2 separate regions of the Homo sapiens genome follow, and region 1 is linked to region 2. Evidence: promoter capture Hi-C in 16 types of primary human blood cells and fetal thymus (Javierre and others, 2016). All regions are on one chromosome and are shown on one strand. Each heading gives the region's core, a stretch centred on a gene start or on the middle of the fragment in contact. The rest is flanking DNA. Distances are from core to core; before and after follow the strand shown. Region 1 has its middle 6.7 kb from the start of NPY4R. Region 2 holds the start of SYT15 (synaptotagmin 15).

Region 1 (5,870 bases), core at 1,974-4,473, 110 kb after region 2:
GTGTAGGGAAACTGTATCTGTTTCAGAGTGAAACTGCTCTAGGGGATGGGAAATTTTGAGTTTATTATTTCCATGAGAAAATGGAATGGGGCTTCTTTTGGGGGAAGATTTAAAATTATCTGTGGAAAAAAGTGAGTTGGACTTGGTAATGTAAGATGAGAAATTTTTCATTATTATATTCAATGAGATAGATACAAATACTGGTTTCCTTAATATTTCTGAAATTGTATCATTGACTATGATAGATGAGACTACTGTTCAAACATATTCACTCTTCCACCTCTCCATTTCACTGGAAGAGTGTAGTTACTGGTTCTATTAATGTTGGGCATGGCTCTGACTTGCTTTGGCCTCAGGGTAGGTGGGGGACAGTTCTTTGCCTCTCGACTGTGCTCAGCCATGTAGCTTGCTTTGGTCAATGGATGTTAGCAGATGTGACTCACGGAGGAATGGAAATTACCTTGCATAGCTGGGCTTGTCCTCTTGAACTGCTGCCATCTCCATGCATAACACTTCTTTGAACTCCTTCAGCCTGAGCCCCAGATGGAATATCAGTGGAGAAGTTTAAATCTCAGTGAGGAGCCAAGTCCAGTTGGACTCATAGCTTGAAACAGAGCTGCCCCATTGAGCTCGCCTAGGTCAGCTAGCCCCAGCTGACCTGCAGTCATGTCAATTGTATGTCACTAAGATTTTGTGGCTCTTTTTTACTCAGCTTTAGCTAACTAATATATCACCATATCAGGGAATTTTGGTAGGACAACATAGCTAAGCACAATTTGAGATGGGGAATAGAATAGGGTAAATTCTCTGTTCAAAGCATATGGTAATCTGGTGCCTATTTTACTTATTATCCCATTTGTGCCCTTTTTTATAACATGTCTTTGGAAGCGAAACTGTACATCCAGTGTCTCTGTAACACTGAGTCTATTGTCCATGTAACATTCAGTCTACTGAACTGCTTTAAAATATTAGTTGAATGACAGTAGACTGAATGAATCTCTGTAGTTCCAGAAGGCAGGGAGAAGGATTGGGAGAGTCGACACAAAGTGTGCAGCCAGGGCTGCGTTGGTATTTTTCCTCTGATGTGCTCCACAGAAGGGCAGCTGACCCACTGTGGGTTGATAATTTCACTGGTTCACAGAAGACAGGGAATATAGGACTTTAGGGAAATAATGTGCCTTTGTCTTTGTCTTTCTCTTATTCTCTATCAAGGGGGAAAATGCTGCTCTGGGCTGGTTGGATTCAAGCTCATGGATTGGACCATGGGATAAAGTTTTAGTGGCAGATGGCTACTTCCTTGAAATAGAGTGGAGAAAAAGGGTGGCAGCATTGGTGAGAAGGGACAGGCAGGAGGCAGTAGGGAAGTCCAGCTTTACTCTGGAGAGAAGAAGAGGTGGGGGTGGGGAGGGCAGGGCCAGCTGTTTGGGGTGGGAGGCAGGGAAGGTGTTGGCTGCCCAGTTGACATCTCTTATCTCTTTCCTGGGGCCAGAGTAGGTTATTTTACAGCCCAGCCTCTTTATGGCCTCAGCAGAGAAGCAAAGGCAAACAAAGAACAGGTGATCCCTCAGGGCCCAAGGAGACGCCTCCTACAGCAGGTGTGCCCACTTCAGCAGCCCTGCTGGCCAGAATCTCTACTTAGAAGGCTTCTGGGAAGGCCAGGCCCTTATCGGCTTCCGACTTTGAAGTCCTAGGAACCCTCCCTCACACCTCCCTTCTATGTGGCTTTGAAAATACTTTGATATTCTATCCCTATCCCTTAATTATTTGAACCCTCACCAGTTTGTAATGAGCCTGAACCCATCTTTGCTCCATTTTACATATGACAAAACTGAGGCTGGAAGCGTTGTTGCCAAGCTTCTTTGCCCTTTGTACCATGGGATTTAATTACATATATTTTATGGATTCTTTCCTTTATAAAGTTGTAATCATTCATTCTTTTTTAATAGAGAGAAATTTAGAAAAGGAAACAAAGCAAAAAATGACCTAAAATCCTATGGGTCAGATAACTCCCGTTGATATTCTTTCCTTCTTTCCCCCAGTTCTATTTCCAGAGGTTACCACTTTCAATTTTTATTTCTGTTTCATTCTATAAAGATGAAGAAAATTTTTGACACCTTTAAAAATATAATTTAAATCATCTTAAACTTATAGAAAAGTTGAAAGTGAGGATAAAGAACATTAATTTTTCTATGCCATTTGAAAGCATGATCCCGGCAATTTGCATGAACACCTTGCTACCGCCTCATCTGCAGGCTCCACTAAAGTTTCATCAGCTGTCCCAAGATACACAGGTTTCATTCTCCTGTCTCTGGTCTCCTTCAATCTGGAATGGTTCTCCCTTCTTTCCTTGACTTCCATGGCCTTATGTTTCCAGATGACAGGCCAGTTATTCTGTAGTATGTCCCTCACCTGGGTTGAGGCTGATGCTTCTTCAGGGTTGGATTCACTTGCATGCACCTTCAGCAGGAAGATCACAGAAGCTGTGCTGCGTTTTCCTTGCATCCTGTCATGCGGTGAGTAATTTCACTCTAGGATTAGAGATGGTGTTCGCTATGATCATTTGATTACAGAGGTGACTGCCAGCCTTCTCCACTGTAAGGTGACTCTTCTCTTTGTAATAAACAAATATTTTGTGATGAGGCACACTGAAACCATGAATATATTCCATTCCTCATCAAACTGTCACTTTACTCCATCATTTAGTTATATTGAAATGGACTCAGATTTTTATTTTATTCAGTAGGTTATTATCCATCATCATTATTATTTACTTTGATGCTCACATGGTCGAAGATTTGGCCATCAAGGGCCCCTTCAAGCCAGGTTCTGGGCTTTTCTGGCCTGCACCCTTCATTCTTAGAGTACTTCATTACTTTCTAGCTCCCAAGATCTTTCAGGTTTATCTTGGGCTTTCCCAGCCCTTGCCCTGGAATCAGCCATTTTCCGAAGGAGACTTGGATTCTTTTAATGGAGAATGGCATTTAGAAGTCAATATATGGGTGCTAGGAGTGTTCATTGCTATTGGGGTATCACTGCTCCTAGACTCTCTCAGTGGACAGAGCAAGGATATATATGCACACACACTATTAGATCAATATTTATCTCTCTATATAGAAAACCATGAGCTCACTTCAATACTTTCAATTCTAATCAAAACCACAGGGCTTATTCTGGGTTTCCCTCCTTCCATATTCATGACTGCCTTCTCCATGAGTGAGAAAACTGGCTCCCAACTTTGCTCAGTTGGTCCCCCTGCATATACCCAATCTTCCATAGCAGAACTCTGCCCCTCCACTCATTCTGTGTGGCTCTGACATCCACACTTGGTTGTCCCCTTCTGCCATGTGGACTTTCATTTGACAGTACTTGGACTCTAACACCCTGTGCTAGGCCACCGTGCCCCTGCCTCCCTGCATGGCCACTCTTTGTCCTATTCTGGCTCTGACATGCCATGCCAGGCTCCCCCACGCCAGATGGGTGCCATCTGGTACATATCCCGTGTGCTTAGCTTAGACTACCCGGGCTATGATGGCTACTGTCCCACCCATGCCCATGTGCTGCATGCATCTTATGAAGGCATCTGGTTTATTCTCCCTGCTCATCAGTTCAATCAGCATGTGCTACCAGTGTAGTGCACCAGCATACCATCTGTGGATCTGTGGGATGTTCAGAAGATCAAGGTCTCTGTAGACCACACTATAACAGAAAGCTGGAAAACGAACATGATCTGGGAGAAGACACTGACTTTGTACTTCTATCCTTGCCAGGTGAAAGCAAACTTCTGCTGGTTCTTACCGATACAGATGGGGAGAAAACACAAGCTGAGTCAATAGCTACATACTAAGTGCTGAGAGTGGTTAAGTTGTTCTATGTTGCATTTAGAAAAGCAGCTAAAATTGGAGTTACTGCCTGATTAAATTTACGACGACATACAGTCATTCTCCAAGATTCAGCAACTTCCTGCACAGGCTAAAGAGCTAAAGAGGTGAGCCAAGTGGGCAGAAATGTGACAGGCCTCCCTGTCCCTGCATCTTTCATGTCTTTAATCATGGCATCGATCCCTGTAATTCCCCTAGAAATACAGTAATGCAGGTTTACTATTTGCGTAGGGAAAGAAAATCCCAGGCTCCTGGGCCTGTTCAACCATTTCTTTGACCTCATCTCTCCTTGCTTGATTTTATACCAGTTGTGCTGGAGTACCTTCTAATATGGTTTGGCTCTGTGTCCCCACCCAAATCTCATCTCTAATTGTCATCTCCACATGCCGAGGGAGGTACCTGGTGGGAGGTAATCGGATTATGGGGGCAGTTTACCTCATGCTGTTCTCATGATGGTAAGTTTCCACGAGATCTGATGGTTTAAAAGTGTTTGGGAGTCCCTAGCCTCTCTCCTGCCGCCATGTAAGATGTACCTTGCTTCCCCCTCTGCCATGGTTGTAAGTTTTCTGAGGCCTCCCCAGCCATGTGGAACTGCGAGTCAATTAAAGCTGTTTTGTTTATAAATCACCCAGTCTTAGGTAGTTCTTTATAGCAGTGTGAAAATGGACTAATACACTTCCTTAATGAACTCTCTCAGAAAGGATTCAGGAAATGTAAGCTTGCAAGTTTAGAAATATCCTTATTCTACCTTTACACTTGATATTATCGCTGAGATGAGCGTTTTAGGTTCAAAATATATTTCCAGGAGTCCTAAAAATATAGCTCCATCTTTTCAGAGTCTTCCATCATCCTATGTTGTTGACAAGACTGAGAATGGTCTCTGTCTCTCCTTTCCTTTGTAGGCAACCTTTCTCTTCCTGCTCCCACCCATGGAACATTTTAGAATCTTTTTTTTTTTTTTTTTTTTTTTTTTTTTTTGGTGTTTTGAAATTTTGCAGTACCTGTCTAGGTGTGGAGCAGTTCCTCGGGCTTCCTTTTAATCTGTAGCTCTGGAATACTCTTGCTATTGATGATTCTATGTGTCGACTATTTTGCTCACACCCCACCCAGATGCATTCTCTACTGTGGTTCTCTGCTCTTCCCTGTGCCAGGGGAAGCTGATGGCTCCTTTGCTGGCAGGGCTCCAGTTGGGTTTGGTCAATGGGAGGGACTGACAGGAGACTGGAAGTGGAAGGAGAGAGAGGTTGGTAGAATTCTTTTCTACTTCCCCTTGCTTCCATGCTGTCTGGAGGCGGTGGCATGCCTCCACACTACAGAAGCTCCCACTGGGGGCCCTTCCTCTGCAGTCCTCTGGCTGTGGTAATGTGGTTTTCTCCTTTTGTTCTTTTAACTGTAGGGTGGTGATTGCTTCTGTCTTCTGCCAGTCTCTGGGTGCCTCACCATTTCTTGTTTCTTTCCTTTAATGCTTCCCACACCTCTGTAAGTTACCTTTTTATTAAAATCCCTTTGTTTGACAATCTGGGGGTGAATTATGTGTCCTGTGCAGACTATGACTGATATGCTGCCTTTCATTGTCTTGATTTTTCCTTCCTGGAAATTTTAGTAATTGGATGATGGGTCATTAGTGTTAATCATCCATGTCTCTTATTTTAGCTCTGAAGTTTTCCATCTTTCTGTGTTTTTGCTCTACATTATGGGATATTTCCTAAGCTGGTTCTCCCATCCCTTCTAATGATGTGTTTTCAAATTTCAGTAGTCATGCTTAGTTTTCAAGGATTCTTTCTTGCTTTCTTAGTCTGTCTTATTTCATGGCAATCTGCTCTTGTTATATGGATTCAGTAATTTCTCTAATTTAGGCATTAAAGGAAGTTTTGGTCTCTTAAAGTTATTTTCTATTCCCTAAGTTATTTCAGCTTCTTTTGGGGTCAGTTATTTTGTTTATTCATCTTGACCTATCTCCTTTGTGCTGTTGATTTCCTAAATGTGTGAGGA
Region 2 (6,020 bases), core at 2,357-4,856:
CTGTGAAACTGGCTCGGTGCCCCAATAGACTCTCCACCTCCAGACCCTAAGCCGGCCAGCCCAGAGTGCAGCAAGGCACCACACCTACCCTGTGAGGGCACTCGGGCCCCGCGCTGGCCTCTGACAGCACAGGAAGCTTCTGCATTCACGCTGAGGCCTGTCTTTTGCCTTCCTTAGATAAACTTGCCAGAAACCCCATAGTGCTTCAGGCCTTTGGGATAATTCCCCTGAGCCCCATAGGCCAGGGCCTGGCATTCAGTAGTTGCTCTAAAATTGTGTTTTCACCCACTCTCTTCCAGGTAGTCAGGACAGGGAAGCCCAGGCTTCTGGTCACCACTCACCAAATCTCTCCCCTGCCCCTCTATCAGGGATCAGCTCCTATAGGCCTTAACCTAGCAGACTAGGTAAAGCAGAGCTGGTGGCATCAAGGGTCCCGGGGGCTGCAGAGCCCTGGCTGGTACAGGAGGCTGGGCTCTCCTGTAGGTCTGCACCTTCCCAGCAACGCGGAGGGCACCAGACCCTGCCTGCTCCAGAGGCTGTACCTGAAAGATGAAGTGCTCGTCAAACTGCGGGTTGGAGGTTTTGCGTTTGGTCTTGGATTGGAGGAAGCGCCGCTCATCGGGCAGCAGGTAGAGCTTCACCAGGGGGCTGCAGGTCTCCGAGGGGGCTTGCAGGTGCTGTGCCTTGATCAAGCCCACCAGCAGCCGCTCAGCCTCCTGCTCATATTCCACCGAGAACCACAGCCGCCCCAGGCAGCCGTCGGGGAAGTCGGTCTCACTTTTGTCCTCCGGGAACTTGTACAGCTCTGGGTTGATGGCCCCCACCATACATGCATCTCCTATGACAGAGGGTGGGAGGGCTGGCAGGCCAGAGGAAGGCAGGGGCATGGGAGACAGTGGCAAGCTCTGGGCACCCATCCCCATCCTGGCCCATCCGTCTCTGCTGAGCCTCAGCTAGCCTGACCACATCTGCCCCACTCTCCTCACCAGGCTAAACACATCCCCTCTCTCTGGTGCAGCTCCTCCAAGAAGCCTTCTCACCATGAAGGCATTGCATGGCCAGGCTGGGGATCCAGCAGAGTCCTGCCCCCTGGGATTGGCCCCCATCCTTGGAGGTCAGGACCTGTTTCAAGGACACAGTGCCCATCACCTGGCCTAGCCCCCTTCCATGGCGTCTAGGGAATGACTCAGCGATAAAACATTGCCTTTCTTCTTCCTCTTCAAATTAGAAGGGCCAAGGTGATTATTGGGTGGTTCCTGTGATGGTCTCTTGGTAGATCTTCAGGGCAAAGAGGTGGCAGAAAGCTGTGTTTGCAGCCCCTACCATTCTGTCCTCTTGGTCAACCAACCCATCATCCTAGAGTGGGACCCAGCACAAGTTCTGTACATGGCGTGCCTGGGTTCCAATTCCAATCTGTTGCTTACAGCCTCAGTTAAGACTATGTAAAATGGGGTGATAATTCCTCCCCCTCAGAGTCATGGTGAGGTCTCACTCCAAATCAGCACCCAAGGCCATATCTTACCCTCATGGGGTGCAGCAAGCACTTCATAAATGAAAGCACCCAGAAAGAGTGGTCCCTGGGTGGTCCCTGGCATCCCTGGCTGGTTCAGGTTGTGTTCCGGAGCCAAGCTGGTGAAAGCAGATGGGGCCACCCGAGCAGACCCTGACCTCTGGGCAGCCCTGGCAAGGACACTCACCAAGGCCGCCGCTGGAGGTGTGAGGCAGCAGCTCTGATGCCGGGCAGGGGTCCCATGGGGCATCGGCCCACTCTCCACTGTGCAGGGGCACCCAATCTCGGCCTTGAAGGGTTGGGGGCACCACGAATGGCACAGCTGGTGGCCTGTCCAGAGTCAGGGAGACAACATGTAGGTGGCAAGTCAATGGTGTGGTCTCAGAGCGCTCAGCCAGGACGGTTGAGCACCAGGGGCTGGAGGAAGAAAAGCCATCGGGAGCCAGGAGGAGGCCAGGGCACCATTTTCTGGGCCCATACCAGGCAACACACACACACACACACGCACACACACACACACACACACACACACACACACACACAGCAGTGGGATTTGAAGAAGGAACACAGCACCTGACAGTGTCAGCCAGTCTGGGTTTGGATTCCTGTTCTGCCACTTACTAATTGTGTTCTCTGGACCTGTTGCTTATGTGCACTGAGCCTCAGATTCCTCACCTGGAACATGGGTTTCATAACACCTGCCTAATAGCTGATGTGAGGTTTCTGGGGTTTCTTTGTGATAGCTCCCAGCACCGAAGCAGCATAGAAGAGGCACCCCCATAAACAGAACTTTCCTTTTCGACCCCACCCTGAGGGAAATTCCAGGGGCGCACTTGGCCCCACATCCTGCCTCACCTGCTCAGTTGGGTCCTAGCATGCGGCTGGCAGGGCCTGTCCCGCTGCCCACTGGAGGCAGCTGTGGTGGCCATGGCTGGTGTCCCAGGCAGCTCCTCATAGGTGAGGGTGGCACAGAACCTTCTCCACAGACAGCAGCTTGCCCCGATCAACAGCAGCAGCAGCAGCCCCCCGATGGTGCCCCCAATCACCAGGGCCAGCTGCTCTGGGGGCAGAGACCACCAGTACTATGATGCCTGCCTGGGAAAGCCACTCTCCCTCACAGCCCTGGCCTGCTGGGGCAGAACTAGGGCAGCAACCCTGCCTCTGGGTTTGATCTCAGGAGTGATAGGAGCAGGCCTGCTGGGGATGGGTTCCGGGAGGGATGCTGCTGGCTAGGTTCCGCCAGCTCTCAGAGGAGAAGCCGTTTACCCCAGGGTCTGAGAGCCCTGGGCAGAACCTTCTAGTTTTCCTTGGAAAACAGCTGGCCCTGCCCTTGGGATTCTGGCTTAAAGAAGCCATTTCCTTGCGCTTCTGAGTAGAAATCAAACCTGCCCTCACCAGAACCTCCATATCCCCTGGGCTCCTGTTGAGGCCAGGAGGGGAGCTGGGGTGTGGACGCAGTCAGTTAAGGAAAGCCCTGAAAGGTACCTTCCCCCTGGTCTGCAATCAAACCTCTACCCTCTGGGGCCCTGGAACCTGCTGCAAGGCTGGACTCTTCTCTAACACCCGCTCCCTCCCCTAGCCCTCTATCAAGGTGAGCACGCGCTTAGGGGAGTTGGTGCGACGCGGTGGACGAGGTGGGGAGGAAAAGGGGGCAAGACCCCGTTGCTGCTGGCCCTCACACGTCCGCATTTGCGGGACCTAGGAGGCTTCGCCCCGGGGGTGCTCAGACGCTGGGTTCCAACCGCTGGCCACCTGGGGCGGGCCAAAAAGGTGCCTCCCTTAGGGTGACGTGCGGCCGCGGGGCATTCAGGTCTCAGGGATCTGCACTGGGTGGGGTGGTGAGAAGGCCGGACCCCCCACACCTCCTAAGCCGCAACTGACCGCGAAGAGCGGGCCTCAGCGTCTACTCCATCCCAGTGCCCCTCCAAGAGCGCGCCGAGGCCGGGCAGGGCAGGCGCTGCACCCCAGCGGGGGCGGCGGGGCGGAGGCAAGTGCTGGAAGGGTCGCAGAGGGGCCGGGGCTGGGCTGGGGAGGCGAGGCTCGCTTACCCGCCATGGGGCTGCTCCCGCAGGCTGGTCTCGCCGGTCTGGGCGGCTGGGGCTGGGCTGCCAGGCCGTCTCTTAAAGCGCCGCGGGGCGCCGTCGGGCGAGCACAGGGGCGGTCCGTGGTGCTGCTGGTGCCCAGCTGCGGCGCGGGGAGCCGCGCAGTGCACGGCAGGGGCAGGGACCCAGCGCCCCGAGGCCGCAGTCCCGCCCCAGCCCGTCCCTGGCCCAGGCCCAGGCCCGGCGGTGGAGGGGCGCAGAGCCGACCGTGAGCTCCCGGAAACCGCAGGGCTCCAGCCAGGGCGGGTCCCGGGCGCCAGGGGCGCCAGGGGCTCCCTGCGGCTTGGGGCAGGGTGGGGTGAGAGTACCACCCCCATCCCGGAGAGCAGGGCTACAGCCTTCACCGCCGCGTCTGACACAGGGCTCCGCACCCGACCCCTCACACCTGGTGGCCAGGACTGAGCCCCCGCCCTCCCAGATCCTCCTCAAGCCGAGGCCCCTCCAGCCGCAGCTCCGACCCCGGCTCGGGGGAGCCTTCCCGGATCCCGGGGTGGAGTCTCCGCGCGGGTCCCCGGCCCCAGCGCTGCCTGCCTGATGGCCTTGGGCAGGGATGCGGCGCTCGCGCACCCGTTCGCTCTCAGCGGACAAACCGGTCGAGAGCGCAATTCTGGAGCGGGTTCCAGAAGCTCCTGGGTTCCAATTCAGGCTCCTCACTCGCCAGCCCTGCGATTTGGGACAACTTAACGTTCGTAAGCTGGGTTCAGTCTTCTCAATTGGGTTAATGTCCGTGAGGGGCTCTCGTAAGGGCGGCTGGCCTGCCGGTAACTTAAGAAGCATGTAAAGAGCACTTAGAGCGGAGGAGCGGCGCGGCCCAGCCCCTGTTACGGTGGTTATCGGATGGAGGCCAGCGTCGCCTGGGTCCCCTCTGTACACCCAGCGCCTATTATTATGGTGATTATTAGAACGCAGGGCCCGTGCCCACTAGTCCAGGCTGGCGAACGCGCCTTGCGGGAAAGGCGGGAGTAAGGTCGCTGCGTGTCCTCTCTGGTCACACCTCGGCGCGCCCTGGTCGCGCCCCTATGGTTCCCCCGCCGAGGCCTCGAGGCGTCTGAGTGGGGAGCGAAAGGAATGTGTGTATCTGTGGTGCAGGGGAGTGTGTGTGTGTGGGGGGGGGGAGGGGGTGGTTGTGGGGGAGTGCGTGTTTTGGGGGGATGGACCTTCTCGTTTTACAGCCTTGAAGGTTATGTCCAGAGTCATAGCCTGGGTCCCACACCCCCGCGTCACCTGTGCCTGTCCTAGGGGGCAGTCAGTGTGCGTGAGGCTCCACCCTGCCTGGGCTTTGGCTCACCTAAGGCGAGGAGGGTGGTGAACTGGGGTGCCCCACTGGGCCGGGTCTGGGAGCCCTCAGCGCCAGGGTGCAGAGGCCGCAGCCACTCCCCTTCTAGGGTCTGGGCGGTGGGGGCATGAGAAGGCGGAGACCCAGGCCACTTCACCCAGTAACTGTCCTCAGCTGTGCGCTTAACTGGCGAGATCTCCGCTCTACTTGGAGACAGTCTGGGGTGTCTGGAGAATCCTCCCCCACTTCTGCTTACCCCAGGTCGCTGTGGGAGCAGGTGTCTCAGGAAATGGGGCCTGGGTCCCACCCAAGGCCTCGGGTCTGAGTTAGATGTCTGTATGTTTGTTGTTGCCCCTGCAACAAAGTACCACAGATTGAGTAGTTTAAGCCACATGCATGTTATCTCACAGTTCGGGGGGTCGGGAATCTAAACTGGGTTGGCAGGGCCTGTGCCTTCTGGAGGCAAGGGAGCTGTTTCCCAGCGTTTCCAGCTCCTAGAGGCTGCTAGCTAGTGGCCCTTTCCTTTGTCTTCAAAGCCGGCAGCACAGCCTTTTCTAACCTCTCCCACTCCAGGTCATTTCACATCAACTCTTTCTGCCTCCCTCTTGTAAGTGTGATACCCTACCTTGTTTTAACCTGAATTGACTGTCCCTTAGCTGAGAGAGCCAGACACACTCCATTTTGGCTCCTTCACTTGCAGCCCCTTACCCACCCCCCTTCCTCAAGGACTTAACTTGTGCAAGCTGACTCCCAGCACATCAAAGAATGCAATTAATGGATAAGATACTGTGGCAAGCTATATCCGCAGTTCCCAGGAATTTGCCCAGTTGATAGTACCCTAAGCCCCCACATTTGTGTCCGGTTGATGGTACCCAAAGCCCCCGCATCTATCGCCTTGTGATGGATTTAAAACCCCTGCACCTGGAACTGTTTGTTTTCCTGTAACCATTTGTCTTTTAACTTTTTGCCTGTTTTGCTTCTGTAAGAGTGCTTCAGCTAGGCTCCTCCTCCCCTTTCTAAACCAAAGTATAAAAGAAAATCTAGCCCTTTCTTCAGGGCCGAGAGAATTTTGAGCACTAGCCGTCTCTCGGTTGCCGGCTAATAAAGGACTTCTGAATTCATCTCAGAGTGT

What was found. Contacts are between HindIII fragments. The CHiCAGO score rates a contact against its expected background, and 5 or more counts as called.
Region 1: a fragment that was not itself captured here is called in contact with the fragment with the promoter of SYT15 in region 2 in 6 of 17 cell types (M1 macrophages, erythroblasts, M0 macrophages and 3 more); the score reaches 6.6 in M1 macrophages.

The regions. Positions count from the first base shown.
Region 1 is chr10:46,469,685-46,475,554 of GRCh38, reverse strand. It overlaps a transcript of NPY4R not described here. Among named protein-coding and RNA genes, the nearest start is that of NPY4R, 6.7 kb to the right of the region's middle. The HindIII fragment of the contact is 2,742 bases long and covers 1,853-4,594 here.
Region 2 is chr10:46,576,714-46,582,733 of GRCh38, reverse strand. It overlaps SYT15 (synaptotagmin 15), which reads right to left and starts at 3,606. Exons shown (of 8, transcript NM_031912.5): 1 at 3,559-3,606; 2 at 2,366-2,570; 3 at 1,698-1,840; 4 at 543-838. The coding sequence starts at 3,565. It overlaps SYT15-AS1 (SYT15 antisense RNA 1), which reads left to right. Exons shown (of 2, transcript NR_155739.1): 2 at 1-566. RefSeq lists enhancers at 1,984-2,863, 2,864-3,741. The HindIII fragment of the contact is 10,756 bases long and covers 135-6,020 here.